Regions from separate parts of the Homo sapiens genome. Here regions 2 and 3 are each linked to region 1. Evidence: promoter capture Hi-C in human tissues and cell types (Jung and others, 2019). All regions are on one chromosome and are shown on one strand. The core of a region is centred on a gene start or on the middle of the fragment in contact, and the rest is flanking DNA. Distances in the headings are between cores, read along the strand shown.

Region 1 (3,796 bases), core at 730-3,229:
TGAAACCCAGTCAATACTAAAATACAAAAAATCAGCTGGGCGTGGTGGCATGCGCCTGTAGTCCCAGTTACTGGGGAGGCTGAGACAGGAGAATTGCTTGAACCCGGAGACCAAGGTTGCAGTGAGCTGAGATCTCGCCATTGCACTCCAGCCTGGGCGACAGAGCAAGACTCCATTTCTAAAAAAAAAAAAAAAAAAAAAAAAGAGAATATGAATTGATGAAGAGTGAACAGTAGGTATTCCAGATGAGGGGAATAGGGAATAATACTCACAAAACTGTAGAAGAGTCAACATGTTACATGAGAATATTGGCTTGATTAGTACTCAGTTCCATCATGGATTAGTAGTGGAAACTATTGGATGAGTAGTAGAATGAGGGTAATTTAGGGAAGCAGTACTTTTCTCTCGAAGACAACAAATTACAAAGATTTTTGAGCCGAAGTGAGCCTTTCAAGAGAATACTTACTTCACAGTTTCTAGTTACCCACACACAGTGTAGAGAGAAAAGAAAATGAGGAATATGGGCAGGCTTTATTCTTAGCAGCAAAAGGCAACCGTGCCACCTCCAGGTGTTTTGTTTGAAATACACCTGCCACCTTTCTACTAGATTACTTCATTCCTTGCTCACAAAACGTCTCATGCACTCTACTGCTTAAAGAGTAAAGTCCAAACTCCTCAGCCTTACACTCGAGATTCTCCGAAATTCTTCCCTGACACACCTCTCCAAAGAAGCTTACTTTAAGGAAACTCATACTCTGGCTAAATGGTCTTTAAATTCTCAAGAAGTCACTGTGTCTTCCATCTACCTTCCCTCACATCTACCTTCCCTCGCTGATGTGTTCTTTATTCTTGGAATCCCTTAGTTCTTGTTTACTCCTGTAAGTACTACCTAGGTTGTAAGGTCTAGTGCAAACCCTATATCCTCTACGAAGAGTTTTCATACCACCGTAGACCATATTGACTTCATTTCTTCATTGCTTTTTGTGAACTATGCTTGGACAAGTTGCTTCAACTCTTTTTTTTTTTTTTTTGAGACGCAGTCTCGCTCTGTCGCCCAGACTGGAGTGCAGTGGTATGATCTCGGCTCACTGCAAGCTCCGCCTCCCAGGTTCACGCCATTCTCCTGCCTCAGCCTCCCAAGTAGCTGGAACTACAGGCGCCCACCGCCACGTCCGGCTAATTTTTTTTTTTTTTTTTTTTTGTATTTTTAGTAGAGACAGGGTTTCACCATGTTAGCCAGGATGGTCTCGATCTCCTGACCTCGTGATCTGCCCGCCCTGGCCTCCCAAAGTGCTGGCATTACAGGCGTGAGCCACCGCGCCGGGCCCAGAAGGCTAATTCTTACTGTCTCTAACACAGGTCCGGTACATAACACTTATTTTGGCGGAAGTTACTGGGTTTTTTTAAGGAGTTATGTATCTCTCAAGCAGAAACCTGCTAGTTCATAAATTCTTAGCATCCCCAACCACTCTTGGCACGCTGCCTTGTATATTATTAGGCTCAACAGCAGTTAGTAATGATGAACACTCCTTAATTCGAAAGCGTTCACTGAATCTACCCCAACGATAGCTTCTCATTAGCTTCTCCACTCCAGCTGCTATTGGCCAAGCCCTGGATGCCCGAAGCACACAGGTTTAGGGCTTCTGGCCCTGACACGTAATAGGGAAAGGGGATTGTTTCAATCCAAATGATTATCTATAAAGTCACTCACAATGTAAGTAATAATATGCGAAATTTTAATTTGTGATGACTAAAAGCACTAAAGTGGTGACTCTTTGGGTAGAACGTAAAAACGAACGGTCCTCAACGGCCACAAGGCGCCCCTTCTAGGAGTGGTACCTCCCAGGATAACGGAAAACAGCCCCAGCCCCATCAGGAGCGAGCTTGGGGGCGGGCTTTAATCTCCCGGCCCACTGTTTGGCTATCTGCAGGGGCTGGCCTCCAATGATTGGTCGCTGCCGCGAGGGCCGCCGGGACTCGCACTCGGCGGTTGTTCCAGAAGAAAGAGACAGCGATGGCGGCAGAGGCTTCGAAGACTGGGCCTTCTAGGTCTTCCTACCAGCGAATGGGGAGGAAGAGTCAGCCCTGGGGTGCCGCTGAAATCCAGTGCACCAGGTGTGGAAGGAGGGTATCCAGATCATCCGGTGAGGAGCCCAAGGGCCCACCTAGCGGGGAGGCAGCCTGGAGGGAGCGCTGGGGGCCAGGTGAGCTGGTGGGCGCGTGAGGCTTGGTCAGCTGCATCCAATCCTGGTGTCACCAGAAACTGCGTCACAGGCCTCCCGCGAGCTGCACCCGACCTCTAAGAGGGCAGTGCTTGGGTTGGTTAAGGGCAGCACCTGCGCCTGTCACGGCTTTCTCCAATTACCCATCCAGGCCTCACCGACCCTCCAGCCGGGAGGATGGGGGCCCGGGTGGCTTTAATCTACTCCTCACAAGGCAGGTTAGCGGGTGCATGCAAAAGTAGACATAAAATGTAGCCCATTGTTTTGTCATCAAGAAGGAACGAAACTTGATTTTCTCCTGTAGTTTTTGTTGTAGGAGTAACAAGTAGACCATTGTGAAATGGTTTTGGATTTTGTTGTTGTTGTTAGCATTTTGTTGTTTCTGTGGGGGTTTTTTTGTTTGTTTTTTACATTATGGCTCACACTGGCCTAAAACACTGTTTGGAAAATGATAGTTTCTTTTGTGCACCTTGTGGGGTGTGTGTGTGTGTGTGTGTGTGTGTGTGTGTGTGTTGGTCTTTATACGTGAGGGGAAAAATACACTGCACTATTATTGGTCTGTTCACCTACAATCTACTCAAGTGATCACAGGTTCAAGTTATTTATTATTATTTTTTTCTTTGAGTTGGAGTCTCGCTCTGTAGCCCAGGCTGGAGTGCAGTGGCGCGATCTCGGCTCACTGCAAGCTCCGCCTCCCAGGTTCACGCCATTCTCCTGTCTCAGCCTCTGGAGTAGCTGGGACTACAGGCGCCCGCCACCACGCCCGGCTAATTTTTTGTATATTTAGTAGAGACAGGGTTTCACCGTGTTAGCCAGGATGGTCTCGATCTCCTGACCTCGTGATCCGCCCGTCTTGGCCTCCCAAAGTGCTGGGATTACAGGCGTGAGCCACCGCGCCCGGCCGGTTCAAGTTATTTTAATGTAACTTAAAATACCTTAGTGTGCTCTTAATACAGCTGAGTTGTTGAATCTCAATTCCTGGAGCTACTGAAAATTCGTATTACCTGGCGTAACTGTTTAATGTTTATACTTTCAAAGTTAAGGTCATTCGATCAGTTTTCTCAGTCTTGGCAAGATGGACTCTGTGAGATGTGAGCCTCTGCAGAAAAAGTTGTGATTTCAGTGGAGAACCAAGTTTCTCCTACTTGGGGTTTAGATCACTGCTACCGTTACGTAGAAAATTTCCATTTTTGAATGAAATTAAAATTACGGAATAAAGTTCTAGAACACAACCTTTTAAAATGAGTACTTCTTCCATACATTAGTATTATAATGCTTAGAAAAACTAAACTGGAGAAGTAGTGGTTATGTATATAGAATCCTGAAAGTGCTTTTTAAGCTGTAATTCACCACAAGTTATTTTGAGTTATTCAGTATCAGAAATTTTATAATAGTTAAGTGTTTTTATTTCTTTGGCAATATTATCCCTGGAAGTTAAATAGGGTTTTAAAATTTAGCATGGTTGTAAGCAAGTTTCAGGTATTTCAGTTGGATAGGAAACTTGTAAAGTTTTTAAAAAATACAATTAATGCAAGGCCGGGCACAGTGGCTCACGCCTATAGTCCCAGCACTTT
Region 2 (3,796 bases), core at 894-3,393, 210 kb after region 1:
TAAAGACCAACTCTGTGAGCTTTAATTCAAGAAAGAAAATGGCAATTCCCCAGAATGATGAAGGACATCCCAGATCCTGGGGAGGACATTGCAGGCAAGCAGCCCTCAGGACAGCATTTGACTGATAAAAGTGAGTGAAGCCTCAGTATGTGAGAGAGGCAGACAGCATCCCTCTGTCTCACCTTTCCACTGGAGATCCACGCAACCCGGGCAGAGGAAGAGATTGTTTCTCCCAAACCTTGACGATCATTTGAGGAAAGACTTGGAGACTTTGTGGGGGAAAGACACAGGGAAACGCTGCCGGCATTGTCCCAAACCTGGACTGGGAGCAGGACAACACTGGGGGAATCTTCCCTATCTGGCTCCACCCATCTTGTGCCCCCAATCCCCCTACCCCTAGGGCTGAGGGAGCTCAGATTAATGTGTACTCAGGAAATCAGCCCATTCCTGGGGCAGCAGAGAGCTCCTCCCAATAAACAAGGATCAAGTACACAGCCAGCAGCACTGGCAACAGCCAGCTCTTACCCATGGCGCCATCTACTGGCTTGTAGGTCAAACCACACACCCAATATAAAACCTGCTGGCAGAAGTGCATAGGGCTACAGAAGCAAAGCCAAAAGACCCTACCCAGCATGCTCTACAGCCACACCCCCTAGAGAGGAGGGAAAGGGAAAGAAGAAAAAAAATAACAATAATATTATAGAAAAGGAAAGAAAAAGAAAAAATCCTACCCAAACAAAAATAATTACACAAATTAGAAGTGCTAGCATCTCCAGATGAGAGGGACCCACGCAAGAATTCTGGCACCATGAGAAATCTGAATGTAGTGACACTACCAAAGGATCACACTAGCTCTCTGGCAATGCTTCGTGCCAAAATGAAAACTCAGAGATGACAATAAACATTTCAAAGCTTGGGTTGCAAGGAAGCTCAATGAGATTCAAGGTTGAAATCAACAAAAAGAAACTTCTACATCAATCCAGGAAATGAAGGAAGAGATAAACATCTTAATAAGAAATCAATCAGAACTTCTAGAATTAAAAAAACTCACTTAAGGAACTTCAAAATACAACTGAAAGCTTTATCAATAGACTGGACAAAGTAGAAAACATAATTTCAGAGCTTGAAGACTGGTCTTTTGAACTAATCCAGTCAGACAAAGATAAAGAAAAAAGATTTTTTAAAAGTGAAGAAAGTCAGAAATATGAGATTATGTAAAGTGATCAAACCTACGAATTACTGGCATGCCCTAGAGAGAAACAGAAAAAGAAAACAGCCTGGAAAACATATTTGATGGAATAATTCAAGAAAATTTATTGAATCTTGCTAGATAGACATCTAAGTACAATAAAGCCAGACAGCACCTGTGAGATACTATAAAAAATGAACATTACCAAGGCATATACTCACCAGACTGTCCAAGGTCACTGTCAAAGAAAAAGCCCTAAAGGCACTGGAGAAAAAGGCCAGATCACATACAAAGGTAGCCCCATCAGGATAACAGCAGACTTCTCAGCAGAAACCTTAGAAGCCAGGAGAGATTGAGGGATCTATTTTCAGAATTGTTAAAGAAAATAAATTATAATCAACAGATTCATATCCTGCCAAACTAAGCTTCATGAGTGAAGGAGAAATAAAAACATTTTTCTTTTTTTTTTTTTTAAATTTATTTTTTATTTATTTTTTTTTATTGATCATTCTTGGGTGTTTCTCGCAGAGGGGGATTTGGCAGGGTCATAGGACAATAGTGGAGGGAAGGTCAGCAGATAAACAAGTGAACAAAGGTCTCTGGTTTTCCTAGGCAGAGTGTGTGTGTCCCTGGGTACTTGAGATTAGGGAATGGTGATGACTCTTAACGAGTATGCTGCCTTCAAGCATCTGTTTAACAAAGCACATCTTGCACCGCCCTTAATCCATTTAACCCTGAGTGGACACAGCACATGTTTCAGAGAGCACAGGGTTGGGGGTAAGGTCACAGATCAACAGGATCCAAAGGCAGAAGAATTTTTCTTAGTACAGAACAAAATGAAAAGTCTCCCATGTCTACTTCTTTCTACACAGACACAGCAACCATCCGATTTCTCAATCTTTTCCCCACCTTTCCCCCTTTTCTATTCCACAAAACCGCCACTGTCATCATGGCCCGTTCTCAATGAGCTGTTGGGTACACCTCCCAGACGGGGTGGTGGCCGGGCAGAGGGGCTCCTCACTTTCCAGTAGGGGTGGCCGGGCAGAGGCGCCCCTCACCTCCCGGACGGGGCGGCTGGCCGGGCAGGGGGCTGACCCCCCCCTACCTCCCTCCCGGACGGGGCGGCTGGCCGGGCGGGGGGCTGACCCCCCCACCTCCCTCCCGGACGGGGCGTCTCGCCTGGCGGGGGGCTGACCCCCCCACCTCCCTTCCGGACGGGGTGGCTGCCGGGCGGAGACGCTCCTCACTTCCCAGACGGGGTGGCAGCCGGGCGGAGGGGCTCCTCACTTCTCAGATGGGGCGGCTGCCGGGCGGAGGGTCTCCTCACTTCTCAGACGGGGCAGCGGGGCAGAGGCGCTCCCCACATCTCAGACGATGGGCGGCCGGGCAGAGACGCTCCTCACTTCCTAGATGGGATGGCGGCCGGGAAGAGGCGCTCCTCACTTCCTAGATGGGATGGCGGCCGGGCAGAGACGCTCCTCACTTTCCAGACTGGGCAGCCAGGCAGAGGGGCTCCTCACATCCCAGACAATGGGTGGCCAGGCAGAGACGCACCTCACTTCCCAGACGGGGTAGCGGCCGGGCAGAGGCTGCAATCTCGGCACTTTGGGGGGCCAAGGCAGGCGGCTGGGAGGTGGAGGTTGTAGCCGAGATCACGCCACTGCACTCCAGCCTGGGCACCATTGAGCACTGAGTTAACGAGACTCCATCTGCAATCCCAGCACCTCGGGAGGCCGAGGCTGGCGGATCACTCGCGGTTAGGAGCTGGAGACCAGCCCGGCCAACACAGCGAAACCCCGTCTCCACCAAAAAAATACGAAAACCCGTCAGGCGTGGCGGCGCGCGCCTGCAATCGCAGGCACTGGGCAGGCTGAGGCAGGAGAATCAGGCAGGGAGGTTGCAGTGAGCCGAGATGGCAGCAGCACAGTCCAGCTTCGGCTCGGCATGAGAGGGAGACCGTGGAAAGAGAGGGAGAGGGAGAGGGAGACCGTGGAAAGAGAGGGAGAGGGAGAGGGAGCATAAAAACATTTTTCTAGAGAAGCAAATGCCAAGAGAGTTCATTACCACTAGACCAGTCTTACAAGAGATGCCTAAGGGAGTTCTAAACATGGAAATGAAAGAATGATACCTGCTATCATAAAAACACACTTAAGTACACAGCTCACAGACCCTATAAAACAACCATACAATAGAAAGTACAAAAAAACCAGCTAACAATTTCATGATAGGGTGAAAAGCTCACATGTCAATAGTAACCTTGAATGTAAACACACCACTTAAAAGTCACAGAGTGGGCTGGGTGCGGTGGCTATTCCTGTAATCCCAGCACTTTGGGAGGCCAAAGCAGGCAGATCACAAGGTCAGGAGATCGAGACCATCCTGGCCAATGTGGTGAAACCCTGTCTCTACTAAAAATATAAAAATTAGCCAGGCGTGATGGCACATGCCTATAATCCCAGCTACTCAGGAGGCTGAGGCAGGAGAATCACTTGAACCTGGGAGTCAGAGGTTGCAGTGAGCCAATATCATGCCACTGCACTCTAGCCTGATGACAGAGTGAGATTCTGAAATAAATAAATAAATAAATAAATAAATAAATAAATAAAG
Region 3 (3,796 bases), core at 362-2,861, 130 kb after region 1:
AAAAATGAGTTGTTTTAGAAAGACTAAAATAAGGGAAGAATATGCTGGAAATGTCTAGAAGCAATTCGAGATCACGTGCAGCTGCAAGTGATAGCGACTGACCTAGAGTCGAGGAAGGAGCAGGGCACCGAAGCCCATCAGTGGTGAGGCAGCAGGTGCGGCCCGGCCCATGCCCCTGCACCTCAGTAATCCCTGCGGCAGCCACACGGCAGCCTGGTGAGGATGGAGAGGACATCTGGGCCCCACCACAGAGGGTGTGGACTTTGGATTGGGTGACATCAAGGTTCACATCCGAGTTTTCTGACTTGAATGCTTAAAACAAGGTAAGATCCACAACCTCCATGAATATCAGGTTTCCCATTTGTGAGACGGATTATGACCAATAAAAGAAAAATTTCTGGTAAGCACTTTTATCATGCAGGAATATGGATTTAATATGAAAATGGTAAAATACAAGTCTAAATGGGTTCAGAATTCAAGAGCAATTAATATTTACAAAATATCTGTTATCAGGCACTGTCACAGGCCCTTATTATACTAAGAACAAAGCTCCATCTCATGAGGCTCACTCTGCCGGGGACAGTGGGAGGGTGATGGGAGAGTGGCTGGGGCAGGTGAGGGGGTGACGGGAGAGTGGCCAGGGCAGGTAAGGTGGCGGGGCTGTGTGGGGAGGCAGGATGACACGTGCTGGGTGTCACTGAACAGAGCTGGGGGAGGCAGCGCGTGTGGGAAGCAACAGGAGGGTGCCTGGCACAGTGCCAGCACTACAAGGGACCAGCGCAGATGACAAGTAAATGGCAGGAGGACTGGCCAGGGACAGGAAGGGGAAAAAAGGCCCAGTCACATAGGGACTGAGGTTCTTGGAGGAAGGAAAGCAGAGGCATATGGAGGTGTCTGAGCGAAGGGGATCCGTTGTCACGTGGAGCGACGCCACAGGGACGGGGTAAGAGCGGAGGCCAAGCCGCCAGCAAGTCATTAACCCAGAGGTGGCAACTGGAATCTGAGTGGACTTTCTGTCAGAACAGCAAGGAATGGAAGAGCAAGAGAAGCCTCGAGAATGATTCGAGGCCTCTGGCCCAAGCACAGGGGAAGACGGCACCAGGATGGACACTGGCAGACGGCCGCGATGAGGCCTGGGGGTTCACAGTGGCTCCACAGGGGCCGTGTCAGTGCCATAGAATGACCGGAGGCCGCGCTGCAGGGCGTGTGGCGAAAACAGCTGGTGAGATTTGGAGATCCAGGCACAGTGAATATGGGCAAGGCTTTTAAGGAGTTTTGCTGCAAAGGAAAAAACAGATAGGGCTGTGGGGTTGAGTGAGTTTTGTTTAAAGAAATGCCAGCCAGCGGTAAGGATGGGAAGGCTGGGGGCAGAACGCGCGGAGGAGACAGAAGGCGGAGGCGGAGGGTGGGCTCCGTGGGCGGGACACGGGGATGGAGTGGGTGGAGGATGACACGCCCTCGGGGTGCAAAGGGAGGGAGAGGCCGCAGCCAGCCAGCAGAGACCCTGGGGATGGGGGAGAGGAAGAGAGGGGAGCCCCTAGGCTGGGGGACTGGTGAGGGTCCAGACCCAGACAGACGGGAGAGGAGCCGGGAGGGGAAACTGGCAGGAGGAAACGACCTGCGGGGTGAAGCCAGCAGGCCTGGCTGGCGGGTGGGATCCGCGGCTGGGGCGCAGACTTCCAGCGCAGCGCGAAAGCTCAGAGGCAAGGCCTCCACGTCCCGCGGGCAAGGCTCAGGCAGAGGCGGCTGCCAGGTCCCGGTGAGCACGGCTGAGAGCCAGCGCCGTGAAAACGGGAAGAAAGCGCAGAAGCCAGGGCAGGGAAGGCCGAGGGGACTCCGCACCTGCGGAAGGCGCAGCCGGCTCTGTCAACCTCCACAGGCTCTACGCTCAGAGCAGCCCCGGAGGAGCCCGGCTCCTTGCAGCGCAGTAGATGCCAGACCCCGAGCAGGTTTAAAAAAGAAAGCCAAGGCCGGGTGTGGTGGCTCACGCCTGTAATCCCAGCACTTTGGGAGGCTGAGACGGGCGGATCACAAGGTCAGGAGATCAAGACCATCCTGGCTAACACGGTGAAACCCCGTCTCTACTAAAAATACAAAAAAAAATTAGCCGGGCGTGGTGGCGGGTGCCTGTAGTCCCAGCTACTGGGGAGGCTGAGGCAGGAGAATGGCGTGAAGCCGGGAGGGGCCGGCCACTGCACTCCAGCCTGGGTGACAGCGTGAGACTCCGTCAAGAAAGAAAAGAAAGAAAAGAAAAGAAAAAAAGGAAGGAAAGAAAGGAAATAAAGAAAGAAAGCCAAAACCAAACAGTCTTAAATAACCCGTTGTTCCAGAAAGCAGTGCTCTCAAAACGCCAAGGGCAGCACTAAATGGCAAGGGAGCCATGGACTTAAAGGGGCTCCCCCACTGGTCAAGTTGGGACCACTTAAATATCAAAATGGAAATTTTATAATTAATTAGAGTAACCTGAGTGTGTGAAAAGCTATGACTCAGTAATGATTAATATAAATTCCAGGAGGGCAGAAATTGCTAACTCATCAATTCCTCAATGATTACAAGTGTCTAGTACATAAGGGGTTCTCAATAAATTTGCTGAATGAATACCCAAAATAAAATAGTTAATATTTTTCAACATAACTGTAATGTAAAGGAAGGTTAAATATGCCCTCTCCTTAATTTTTTGATGATTTAATAGAGTATCAATAAACATAGGTTTGTTTTCTATTAAGTATATATCTGTTTTTAAAGTATATTTTTGCACAGAAGTAAAAAGAAAGGTAAATACGGGGAACTATGAATAAGCCAAATGGTGTAAGGAAGAAAAGGAACTGCACCAAAACCAGCAAGAAATAATGAATACCCAGGGTTACACATGATAACCAAGTACGAACAGGGTCCAAACTTCAATCAACACCAGAAGTCATATAAACGAACAAAGGCGAGAGTTCAAGAATGAGTTCCTGAAGAGGGACGGCAACTCACCAGCCCAGCCCCTTGCCACCCAACAAGCCCCTTGAATGGGCACAGCCCAGAGCTGCCAGCAGTGAGGATGTGCCCAGTCCTGCATGGTGCAGTGTGGCAGCCACCAGCCAGCCACAGGTGGCTACTACTAAGTCCTGGAAATGTAGCTAATGGGAATGAGAAACTGAATTTTCAATTTACCTCTAATTAATTTAAATGGAAATAGCCACACAGGGATAAGAGCTAGCAGCCTGGACTGCAGAGCCTGAGAATCAGAGGACACATCTTGTGAGGGAAAGGCATCAAGTTGCAAGAAAAGAAAACCCACGTTATTCATCTAACAAAGTACAACAACAAAAAGAAGTGTGTTTGCTCTGGTTTGAATCCTTGGAAGAAGTAGTCAGGATCAGAGCTATGAGAAAGAGAAGGAAAAAAAGCAATCAATCTCACAACCTTGTGTGGTCTAAGGAGGTTATTTATTTTTTCCCTTTGGATCTGGTAAGATTTTCATAACACAGCAAGGTTATCTCTAATCCTAGGAGATCCAGAAAGAAAAATGAAATGACAAACCCATCATGTATTTTAGGCTATGGTTTTTAATTTAGTGAAGTTTTCTGATAGCAGAATTTGTTATAACTACTGGTTCAAGTATATGTCTTGTTCACTAAAAACAGCCATACTAAATTTGTAACTATAACTCAGATTGTTTAAAAGAAATTCAATTAAGTTTAAAATCAATTTTAAACCTCTTACCTATCAGGTAGAGAACAAAAAACACTCTAAGAATTGCTAGTAGAACTAAAAATTAATTAGCCAGCCATGGTGGTGGGCACCTATA

Evidence for each region. The method cuts DNA at HindIII sites, captures the fragments that hold promoters and counts their contacts. A contact is called where the count stands out against the background at its distance.
Region 2: a fragment that was not itself captured here is called in contact with the fragment with the promoter of RNF17 in region 1 in 4 of the 25 tissues and cell types used here (H1 embryonic stem cells, IMR-90 fibroblasts, heart left ventricle and 1 more).
Region 3: a contact is called between a fragment that was not itself captured here and the fragment with the promoter of RNF17 in region 1, in 2 of the 25 tissues and cell types used here (H1 embryonic stem cells and mesendoderm cells).

Annotation. Positions count from the first base shown.
Region 1 is chr13:24,762,190-24,765,985 of GRCh38, forward strand. It overlaps RNF17 (ring finger protein 17), which reads left to right and starts at 1,980. Exons shown (of 36, transcript NM_031277.3): 1 at 1,980-2,144. The coding sequence starts at 2,015. The HindIII fragment of the contact is 17,753 bases long and covers 1-3,796 here.
Region 2 is chr13:24,968,024-24,971,819 of GRCh38, forward strand. It overlaps the pseudogene TPTE2P1. Among named protein-coding and RNA genes, the nearest start is that of CPAP, 47 kb to the left of the region's middle. RefSeq lists an enhancer at 1,572-2,479. The HindIII fragment of the contact is 4,516 bases long and covers 1-3,796 here.
Region 3 is chr13:24,893,326-24,897,121 of GRCh38, forward strand. The region is part of intron 9 of CPAP (centrosome assembly and centriole elongation protein); the gene reads right to left. Among named protein-coding and RNA genes, the nearest start is that of CPAP, 28 kb to the right of the region's middle. RefSeq lists an enhancer at 433-1,351. The HindIII fragment of the contact is 7,479 bases long and covers 1-3,796 here.